Linked DNA regions of Homo sapiens: region 1 is linked to region 2. The links are contacts of gene promoters, found by promoter capture Hi-C in blood cells and fetal thymus (Javierre and others, 2016). All regions are on one chromosome and are shown on one strand. Each heading gives the region's core, a stretch centred on a gene start or on the middle of the fragment in contact. The rest is flanking DNA. Distances are from core to core; before and after follow the strand shown.

Region 1 (5,506 bases), core at 2,405-4,904, 3.1 Mb after region 2:
CTCCAGCCTGGGCGACAGAGCAAGACTCCGTCTCAAAAAAAAAAAAAAGTCAAAGCATTTGACAAGTTATTGACAAGCAGGTAACATGTTGTTTAGGACTTTTCTTCTTTGAACAAGCAAAGTAATTGTACGTGTGTAGAGCTTTCCTTCCTCTTTATGTACTTCCATGATAAATTAAACCCCAATTAGCCATCTTCCTCTACATCCTGACATCTTTTAACAATAAACTTTACCTAGTCCTAAGTTTAGCTCATCAAAAAAGAAAAAATAAATTTTCTATTGCTAGTTGTTTCTGGAAAATTGTATTATTTCCTATTCATGTCTGTGCTGTCAGTAAACTTCGCATACTCTTTTTAAAGGTGAGAACAAAATCGTTTTATTTCTGTATTTGCCAGGTCCTCTCTTACAACATCAAGTACATGGAAAGTTCTTAAGCTAAGAACTGATCATGCCTATGGATGACCTAGAAATGAGGTGAAGAGAGATATGTTGGATTTTGGACAGAAGAGAAACAATAGCTGACTATTTTGAGCAGAGAAATACAAATCACATTTTAATAAAATAAACATGACGGTCTTAAGCAGGTCATTTTAATAGGAATTCATTTTACTCCACCATAACATCTGAAAGCAAGAAATGACTTTTGCCTGGGCTCTCCTACCTTTTCTGTCCACCCTGTCTCCCAAGTCATTTCCTCCAGCTTCATGACTTTTATTTATGTACATATGTATGTATGTATTTACTTATTTATTGAGACGGAGACTCACTCTGTCACCCAGGCTGGAGTGCAGTGGCATGATCTTGGCTCACTACAACCTCCCCCTGTCAGGTTCAAACAATTCTCCTGCCTCAGCCTCCCCAGTAGCTGGGATTACAGGTTCATGTCACCATGCCCAGCCAATTTTTGTATCTTTAGTAGAGATGAGGTTTCACCATGTTGACCAGGCTGGTCTCGAATTCCTGACCTCAAGTGTTCTGCCCACCTCAGCCTCCCAAAGTGCTGAGATTACAGGTCTGAGCCCCACGCCTGGCCTCCATGACTTTTAATGTCATGTCATTGAGAGCCACTGACACCCATATTTCTCTGGGCAGTCTTAACTTCTCTTTGAGCTCAAGATACTCGGTCTGACTCAAATGCTTCACCTGATGCCTCTCTTAGGCCTTTAAAACTTATGTTCAAAACACAACTTATAAATTTCTCTCCCATATCTGTCTTGTCCCACTCCCATACTCCCAAAGACTTCTTCATATTAATATCAGTAACCACCATTTAACTAGTTGTTTTAGCCATAAATCAAAGAATTATCCTTGACTTTTCTGTCTTCCCCATCTGCTCTTCTCACAACTATGCAAATCAGTTAGCAAGATCTGTTAGTGCTTCTCATTAAAACGTATCTCAAATCTATCTACTTCTTTCCATCTGCACTGCCACACTGAAATTCTAGGAACACAAAACCCTTCCGTGGCCTTCTCTTAAATATGAAATAAAATCTAAACTTCCTACCATATGGCCTACAAGCTTCTTCACGGTCTGACAGTCCCTCAAGTTGCATGTGGCTATACAGGCTCTGCATTGCACAACTTTTAGGGGTGTCTGTATCACCTCATTCTTAGTCATCATTTGTCAAATCTTTTAATGTTTTCCCTCATATCACTGCTATAGTCTAAATTTTTGTGTTTCTCCAAAGTTCATATGCCTAAACCTTAATCCTCAATGTGATGGTGTTTGGATATGGGGATTTTGTGAGGTAATTAAGTCCTCCCTAATGGAGAGGGGTTTGGACTTTCATAAGAAAAGACAGGAGAGCTTGCTTCCTCTCTGCCTGCTTTTCACCAACTGAGAATACAGCACAAAGGTGGCCAGCCATTGGTGAGCCAGAGAGAGGGCTGCCATTAGAAATGAATTATGTGAGCACCTTGATTTTGTACTTTCCAGTCTCCAGAACAGTGAGAAATAAACTTTCTTTGCTTATGTCACCCAGTCTATGGTATTTTTGTTGTGACAGCCCAAACTAAGACAGTCTCTGTGCTTATTCCCTCCAAGTTCTTCCAGACCTGATCCCCAACTCTGCATTTAGCTCTCAGTCCCTACCTTTGTTCCATTTTATGTGCATGCCCAACAGTTTCAGTATTTTAGCAGAAGGATGTCTCTACTTGTTCACTAAACCAAAATCTAACTTCCCTCCAAGGACAGGACTTCTCCTTATCTTTCTATACTGAATATCTGCCATTATCCTTCACCCTGTTGTACTGTGAATGCTTGAGATAGTGCTGTCATTCCCCCGGTTCTTGTGGACCACTACCAGGCCATTACGGTTCCCATTTTGCTGTGAAAAAACCTTCCTCTTTTCCAGCTCATACCATTTGTATTTACCACCTCTTCTCCTTTTTCATTTTCCTTCAACTACAAGTGATATCTGCGGTTGAAGTCCACAGTCTTCCTTTCCTCCATCATGATGTGTGACTTGCATATGTTGCTTGACTCATGTTTTCTGACCTTCTGGAGTCTAATGGTCTTCATTCACTCTACTTCCTTAGGGCACATTCAGGGTTATACCCTGGATCTTATTATATCCTAGAATTTTTCCCTCCTTGGCTGGGCGCAGTGGCTCACACCTGTAATCCCAGTGCTTTGGGAAGCCAAGGTCAGAATATGGTTTGAGCCCAGGAGTTCAAGCCAGCTTGGGCAACACAGCAAGACCCTGTCTCTGTAAAAAAAAAAATGAAAGAAAAAAATTAGCTGGCCGGGCACAACGGCTCACGCCTGTAATCCCAGCACTTTGGGGGGCCGAGGTGGGCTGATCACGAGGTCAGGAGATCGAGACCATCCTGGCTAACGCAGTGAAATCCTGTCTCTACTAAAAATACAAAAAATTAGCCAGGCGTGGTGGCAGGTGCCTGTAGTCCCAGCTACTCAGGAGGCTGAGGAAGGAGAATGGTGTGAACCCTGGAGGCGGAGCTTGCAGTGAGCAGTGAAATTGTGCCACTGCATTCCAGCCTGGGGGACAGAGCAAGATTCCATCTCAAAAAAAAAAAAAAATTAGCCATGTGTAGTTGTGTGCACCTGTAGTCCTAGCTACTCAAGAGGCTGCGGCCGGAGGATTGCTTGAAGTCAGGAGTTTGAGTCTGCTGTGAGCTATGATTGTGCCACTGCACTCCAACCTGTGAGACAGAGTGAGACTCTGTCTCTGAAAAAAAAAAAAAAAAAAAAAAAAAAAGCGTTCCCTCCCTGAATCGTAGAGGCCAAGTTACTTTCTTTGACCCTAACTTCATATTCTTCCAACTTTTTTACCTCCTCATTCCCCTACCACCTTCTTTTCTAGGAACTGTGTAGATAATTTCTAGAAGCTGCATTTTCCCCAATCCATTGACTCATTCTGCACTGCACCCCCAGCACTCCCTTGTCATGACTGTACTTTCTTCCTGCACAGGTCAAATCCTGTAGATTCTTCTCATATTCCCTCTCTTTTCCCTTTTCTGACACTTGCCACTGTTGGCCACTCTAGTCTTAAAACTTGCACCTCTCATTACTCCATTCACTGGCTTGACTTCTTCTGCCCATCAAGAAAAGTTGCTCAGAGTTCTCTCCATCACCATCATTGTCTTCTTTCTTTTTTGTGTTCTCTTAAGGCACTCTGAAGCACACCCATTTACTAATAATCCCAATTACCATATTTCTCTTCTGTATTCTGGAATCACACATCCAACAGCATGCTAGATGTTTCTGCCTCGATGTCCCACAAGCATATTGAAAACCTCATGTCCCCACACCTATTAGGATGGCCATTATCAAAAAACCCAGGAAATATCAAGTGTTGGCAAGGATGTGGAGAAATCCGAACCCCTGTGCATTATTAGTAGGAATATAAAATGTTGCAGCCTCTGTAAAAAACAAAACAAAAACAGAGGTCCATCAAGAAGTTAAAAATAGAATTATCATATGATCCAGCAATTCCACTCTGGGTCCATGTACAAAAGAACTGAAAGTAGGATTTGTAGGGAAAGAAAACCATACACCTTTAGGGAATTATTTGAAATCTGTATGTGTCACTTCCAACTATCTTATTCACCCGTGCCTCATCATTTGTCCATAGCTAGCTGCAAGAGGCTTGGAAAAGTAGTCTTTAGCTGTGTGTCTATGAGTTCAGAATAAACCTATTACTACAGAAGAAGAGACAAATAAATATTGAGGCGACCACTAGCACTTACTGGCACAATATTCAACCATGACTTCATGAGTGCCTTGCCCTTTCAGAGAAGATGAAGTATTAATTCACTCAAACTTACCTAATGAATGTATGATTCAGCATGAGATGCAAGGGGTAGAAACAAAAAGTGAGCTTGAGATCAAGATTAATGCAGGTGTTAGTAACTAGGCACTGACCTGGGTTTAAATGGAAGAGCAAGGGCTGTCATCCAACAACTTATTCAACTTAAGCTCCTTAAAATAATTTTCATGCTGACAAGGATACAAACATGTAGGAATATCTTCTTGTTTACTAGTTCAACATTTGAACTTGGGTCTGTCATTGGCCCTTTTACCTACTAGGTTCTACCAGGTTTATGACTCTTCTGCTGCATATTCAAGGTGCCATTATTCACAATAGCTAAAAGGTGGAAGCAGACCAAATGTCCATAGGCAGATGAATGGATAAACAAAATGGTGTAACATACAATGGAATGTTATTCAGCCTCAAAAAGAAAGAAAATTCTGATGCACGTTACAATATAGATTAACTTGGAGGACTTTATGCTAAGTGAAATAAGTCAATCACAACAAAACAAATACTGTATTGTTCCACTTATATGAGGTATCTAGAGTAGTCAACTACTACATTGCCAACAACTAGAGTAGTCAACTCATAGAAACAGAAAGTAGAGTGGAAGTCACCAAGGACTGTGGAGAGGGGGAATGGGGAGTTGTTGTTTAATGGGTACAGGGTTTCAGTTTTGTGAGACAAGAAGTTCAGAGATTGGTTATACAACAATGTGAATGTACTTAATGCCACCAAAATGTACATTTTACAATGGTTAAGATGGTGTGACTTTTATGTTACACTTATCTTGCCATAAGGAAACAAACAAACAAAAATATGTCCCCACTAAACTCTGTATTTATTCCGCAATCTGCTTCTCTTAATGGTTTTTCAAATCTCAATGACTGGCATTCATCAGTCATCCAGACAGAAAGCTGGGTGCTAACCTGAAATTCTCCTTCCGTGTCACCCTCTCTGTCAAACTAATAAGCAAGCCCTTTGGCACTATATTCTTAACGTCTATTCATACTCCCCACTCTGTCCATCTGCTTGTTACGCTTTTCAACTCTCTCACCCAGATTTGCTGCTGATACTATTATTTTCTTAACTGCTCCCTCTGCGCTAAATTGCTCCATTTCAAATTATTTTCCATGTTTTGACTAGAACCATTTTTTTTCTAAAATCCAGATGTGAACAAATTATTTCCATACCCCAAAATACATTAATACTTCCCCACTGGCTGCTACTAC
Region 2 (5,388 bases), core at 1,655-4,154:
GAGGGTGCAGTGAGCTGAGATCTTGCCACTGCACTCCAGCCTGGGCCACACAGAGCGAGACTCCATTTCAAAAACAAAGCAAAACAAACAAAAAACAACAACAAAAAAAACCTTTTATATATATATATATATATATATATATATATAAACACATTGCACCAGTTTTTTTTATTATTTTACTTTTTAAAATGTGGCTTATAGAAGACAAATTTACATTATATTTCCATTAGCCAGCAATGTTCTGGGAAAAATAATATAAATAAAATGTATATAATGAAAAACAAACTTTGGTGAATTAACCTGACTGGAACATAGCTAAGGATTCACAGGAGAGAAAAATCAAAGTTAGGGCTGAAGAGGTAGAAGGGATAGCAGTATTCAGGATTTGAATGAAAAGGGATTTCAGACTGGACAGACTGGATTTAACATCTCTAGAGATGCCATTTTTGCCTTTGTTGCCACTTTTGCCTTTTAGAGACCATAAAAGTGACATTTAAGAAAAATCAACCTGCCAACGGTACACAAATGGAAAGAAGTGGAAGAGCAAAGATTTTAGAGATTTGCCATTTTAGAGGTACAGGTACCATGATTGCAAGAAAAATTCTGGTCCTTGCCTTGATTCTAGGGAGTTGATACTCAATATCATCTGAATCTTTTTTGCTGAGTCTACAGCTTTTTTTTTTTTTTTTTTTTTTTTTTGAGACAGAGTCTCTCTCTGTCGCCAGGCTGGAGTGCAGTGGCGCGATCCCGGCTCACTGCAGCCTCTGACTCCCCGGTTCAAGTGATTCTCCTGCCTCAGGTTCCCGAGTAGCTAGGATTACAGGCATACGCCACCACGTCCAGCAAATTTTTGCATTTTTAGTAGAGCCGGGGTTTCACCATGTTGGTCAGGATGATCTCGATCTCCTGACCTCGTGATCCGCCCGCCTGGGACTCCCAAAGTGCTGGGGATTACAGGCGTGAGCCACAGCGCCCGGCCTGAGTCTACAGCTTTTTAAAATCTGAATTCAGTTACTTTCTATGTGGAAAAGAATGTACCCAGCAGCCACAAAAGCAATTTGCCTCACTATACATATAGCAACTGGGTGTGTGGAAAAAACCAGCATTTGTTTTTTTCCAGCATAAATAGCAAGAACAATCTTTCCTGATAGTGCAACTTTTTTGCCTAAAGGTTTTGGAGTTCTTCAAAGCCATCGTGGCATCAAAGACTACTGGAACGAACACACACACACACACACACACACACACACACACACACACACCATCATGGCATCAAAGACTACCTAAAAACAGCCCCCCTCCCCAGCCATCATGGAATCAGACTACTTCAACACGCGCGCGCACACACATACACACCCATGACATCAAAGACTACTTAAACACGCACACGCACGTACACACACCCCAAGCTATCGTGGCATCAAAGACTACTTCACGCGCGCGTGCACACACACACACACACCATGGCATCAAAGACTACTTACACACACGCCCCCTAGACAGGTTTTTCTTTTTCTTTTTTGAGACGGAGTCTCGCTTTGTCGCCCAGGCTGGAGTGCAATGGCGCGATCTCGGCTCACTGCAACCTCCGCCTCCGGGTTCAAGCGATTCTCCTACCTCAGCCTCCTGAGTAGCTGGGGATTACAGGCGCGCGCCACCACGTCCAGCTAATTTTTTGTATTTTTAGTAAGAGACGGGGTTTCGCCATGTTGGCCAGGCTGGTCTCGTACTACTGACCTCAGGTGATCCGCCCGCCTTGGCCTCCCAAAGTGCTGGGATTACAGGCGTGAGCCACCAGGCCCGGCCTCTAGACAGGTCTTTCAAAAGTTTCAATTATTAACCTTCTTAGAAAGGTCATTAACCTAACGGGCAAAGCAAGACTCAGGTTTTGACGAATCAAGACTGATTTGCTTGTATTTTGCAATAGCTATTGATTATAAATAATACTTCCAGGCACCTTTCCACCCCTTGGCCATTTCTCGTTCTCCTCTACTTTGCTCCTTCTCCCCATCCCCGAGGCAGTAAAGTTCGGGGAGGCCCGGGAGCGCCTGGGCCACGTGTGCGCCCGCGCGGCTGCCTAGAGGCGCTGCTGCAGGGAGGCGGGACAGAGTTTCGCGGCTCGCACGTGGCCGCGAGCTCACGGCCTGGGGGTCAGGGAGACCGTGAAGGGCCCGGATCCCTGTTACTCACCCTCAGCTGTCGCCATTATCCTAAGTGGGCTGAGGGCTGCGACCGCGCCGGGAAGCGAGGCAGAACTCTAGAAAAGAGGGGTGGTCAGAGAGCTTCGCTGGGCGGGGAAGGAGGCGGGGCCGCGCGACCCTGCGCCACTCTTTTCGAGCTCCGCTACAGCCGCCTAACCCGGAGGGGTATGGGCGGAGACTGAAACGCGGATATCGGACGAAACAACGCCCCACTGGCTTCCCGCCGCGCAGGCGCAGAGACGCGACCCCGCCTCCGGGCCGCCCCGCGCTGGCGCAGTGCCCGGACAGGCGAAAAGTGGCGCGCACTGGCGGCCCCTCCCCACTCTGCGGAAGCTCGCATACCCCGGCCCCTTCTCGGCTGCGGGAGCGACTCAGAAGTTGGAGCGTACCAAGTCTTGACGGCCTGGGGGAAGCATGCAGGGAAGGGCATATGAAGGCTAAATGCTCTGAAAGAGAAATGAGGTTAAGTCCGTTACTCCCATTACGCTACTGTTGGGTGCTGGAAAATAACGGAGATTTCCACGTGCAGCAAATACAGCTTTCCAGGCAGCTCTTAGGGGAAGGCTAGCTCCACCCTACAGCATCCGTGACCCCGCCCCTCAGCCGCGGGACCGCCCCTCCGCCCTCGCTCGTTGGTGGACTCGGAGGGGGAGGAGCAGGGCTGAGCTGGCCACGCCACCTAGGGACAGCGCGCGCCGCCGCAGTAGCTGGGGCCACCCTCGGGAAGGAAGAGCCTGTCGCGAGCGCGAGCTTCTGAGCTCGACGGGCCGAGCTGGCAGCTGGTTGGTGCTTACACCTTGGCCGCAGCGGCAGGTCCTTCCACGTGCTTTCGGCGGCGACATGGAGCTGGAGGAGTTGGGGATCCGAGAGGAATGTGGCGTGTTCGGGTGCATCGCCTCAGGAGAGTGGCCCACGCAGCTGGATGTACCGCATGTGATCACTCTGGGACTCGTGGGGCTGCAGCACCGGTGAGCAACAGGGTGGGGGTGGCGGGGGCGTGCGTCTCCATCTCTCGGAGCCGCTTCCCGCAGTCGGCGTTCTCATGAGCGCCCGAGGGCCCGGGAGGACCGACCTCTCCGACCTAAGCCAGTACCTGCCTGTGGCGTCGACCGGGTTGCCTAGGCGTGCACGAGGGGCACCTCGCTTCCATGAACTTTAGCCTGTCCTGCCCACCCTCCCAGCCACTTATGCCTTTTAGGGGCTCTCTCCCTCCCCGCCCCCCGGTGTGTGCACCCATCCAGAGGCTGGCCAGCTTGTAAACCGCCGGTTTGCTTGGTCTAGCTGGGTCAGGGCTCCTCCCCGACTGCAGGCGGGTTCTAGTCTCCCGGAGCCTGTGGCTGCTCCTGTAATAGGCTAGTGTGGCGTGGCGGCCAGTCCAGGTCCTTCAACACCTAAAGGTTTTCGCGCGGGGCCTCCAACCACCACAAGCTTTTGTTTGCAAGGGCAGAGCTATTGAGCAGATTATGGGTTTGAAAGTAGTTATCGCTATGGGAACTTGAGGATGCTAGACTTCAGACCCAGGGAAAGATGACTAGTTGATGTTGAGAATGACTACTGGTAGTAGATCTCACATAAATTAAATGGAAATAAGCCAACCATAGGGAACAGTGCATCTGGAAAAGATTCATTGGTAGACGTCTTGCCTAATGAATGAAAACGTTGGTAATAACATGACAAAAATTAACTCCCTTCTTCAAAAGGGGGACAGGGGAGTAGTGTCTCTATGCCAAGATCCATACACTTGATTTTGAAAAATTGGGAGATCCTTTCGAGTTAAAAAAAATTACTTTGCTTCGGTGATCTTTCCTTTTCTTACTACCTGACTTAACTGGAAGTTGATATAAATTATTACACTAGGATAAGAAAAACAAACCTGGGTTTGATATTCTTACTGAAAGTATTACAGTTTCCATAAGGCAATACAGTGGTAACAACTTACACTACAGTTAAGGAACTTGGCAATAACACGTAACAGCAAAATGGGTGCAACACGTATAAACGCATTCCAAAAGATTAGCTTTTCCTCCACCAAACTTAAATTAGAAGTATTTTTTGCTGTTTTCATTGTCCCAGGTACTTCAATTTCAGTTTCACATTTTGTGTGTTCCTTGTTTACTAAAGAGCTGAGAATGTGGGAAGCATCAAAAAGAATATTTTTAACTTGCGTAGCTCCAATCTTGGATAATTGTGGGTTGACCATAATAGATTTCTTGTTTTTTTTAAAAAAAGTTTATTGAGAAAATTAGTTACGTAATCCAAGGAGAAAGTAAACTCTTGATTATGTGGTAGTTGTGAGCAACATTAGTTTGTAACATTCTTAGAAACTATGGCCAGGCGCGGTGGCTCACGCCTGTAATCCCAGCACTTTGGGAGGCCGAGGCGGGCGGATCACGAGGTTAAGAGATCGAGACCATCCTGGCCAACATGGTGAAACCCCATCTCTGCTAAAAATACAATTAGCTGGGTGTGGTGATGCGCTCCTGTAGTCCTAGCTACTCCGGAGGCTGAGGCAGGAGAATCGCTTGAACCCGGGAGGCTTAGGTTCCAGAGAGCAGAGATCACGCCACTGCACTCCAGCCTGGGCGACAGAGCGAGACTCCGTCTCAAAAAAAAAAAAACAGTTGTTATTTTGGATACTCTGTCATGGGGGTGAGGGAGAATCTAGAGGTCTTTAGGGTTGCCTGGTGGTCTGTAGAAAATATGTATGAACTGTACTTCACTATATTTACTTTTTTTGCCAAAGTTATTCAAGAAATTTTCATCCCCCTTTCTCCTTCCCTTTAAATGTGTGCCTGAAGAAAAAGAGGCTTTTTTTTTTTTTTAACTTACATGTTAGCACTGGTTGGAGTTTTAGTACCCAGTTTAGGAAAATACTTGGTATTCATGGTTATAGGTTTTTTTTTTCTTTTTTTTTTTTTTTAATGAATACCATTTGATTCCTGGTTACATATATCTGTTTTCTATAGTTGCTTTTCTGTGAAAGAATTGTAAGATTAAATAATACCAGATAAGGGCAATAATGATGTGATTATGTGGTTTTGAGGAACAAATGTATTACTGAAAAACAATTTAACATTTCTCTTGTGTAGGCATAGAATCATTAAGGTGCACAAAGAGGGCTGGTTCTCACCCATAATCAATTCAAAATTTTACATGAGCTAAAGTGCTCATCCTTTGGGAGGACTGA

The links. The method cuts DNA at HindIII sites, captures the fragments that hold promoters and counts their contacts. A CHiCAGO score of 5 or more calls a contact.
Region 1: a contact is called between a fragment that was not itself captured here and the fragment with the promoter of PPAT in region 2, in 1 of 17 cell types (neutrophils). The highest score is 5.0, in neutrophils.

What each region holds. Positions count from the first base shown.
Region 1 is chr4:53,368,122-53,373,627 of GRCh38, reverse strand. No RefSeq gene overlaps it. Among named protein-coding and RNA genes, the nearest start is that of SCFD2, 4.8 kb to the right of the region's middle. The HindIII fragment of the contact is 4,265 bases long and covers 1,522-5,506 here.
Region 2 is chr4:56,433,131-56,438,518 of GRCh38, reverse strand. PPAT (phosphoribosyl pyrophosphate amidotransferase) reads left to right here and starts at 2,904. Exons shown (of 11, transcript NM_002703.5): 1 at 2,904-3,169. The coding sequence starts at 3,042. PAICS (phosphoribosylaminoimidazole carboxylase and phosphoribosylaminoimidazolesuccinocarboxamide synthase) reads right to left here and starts at 2,259. Exons shown (of 9, transcript NM_001079524.2): 1 at 2,191-2,259. The coding sequence starts at 2,206. RefSeq lists enhancers at 1,289-2,172, 3,020-3,199 and silencers at 2,300-2,589, 2,730-2,929. The HindIII fragment of the contact is 7,763 bases long and covers 1-3,631 here.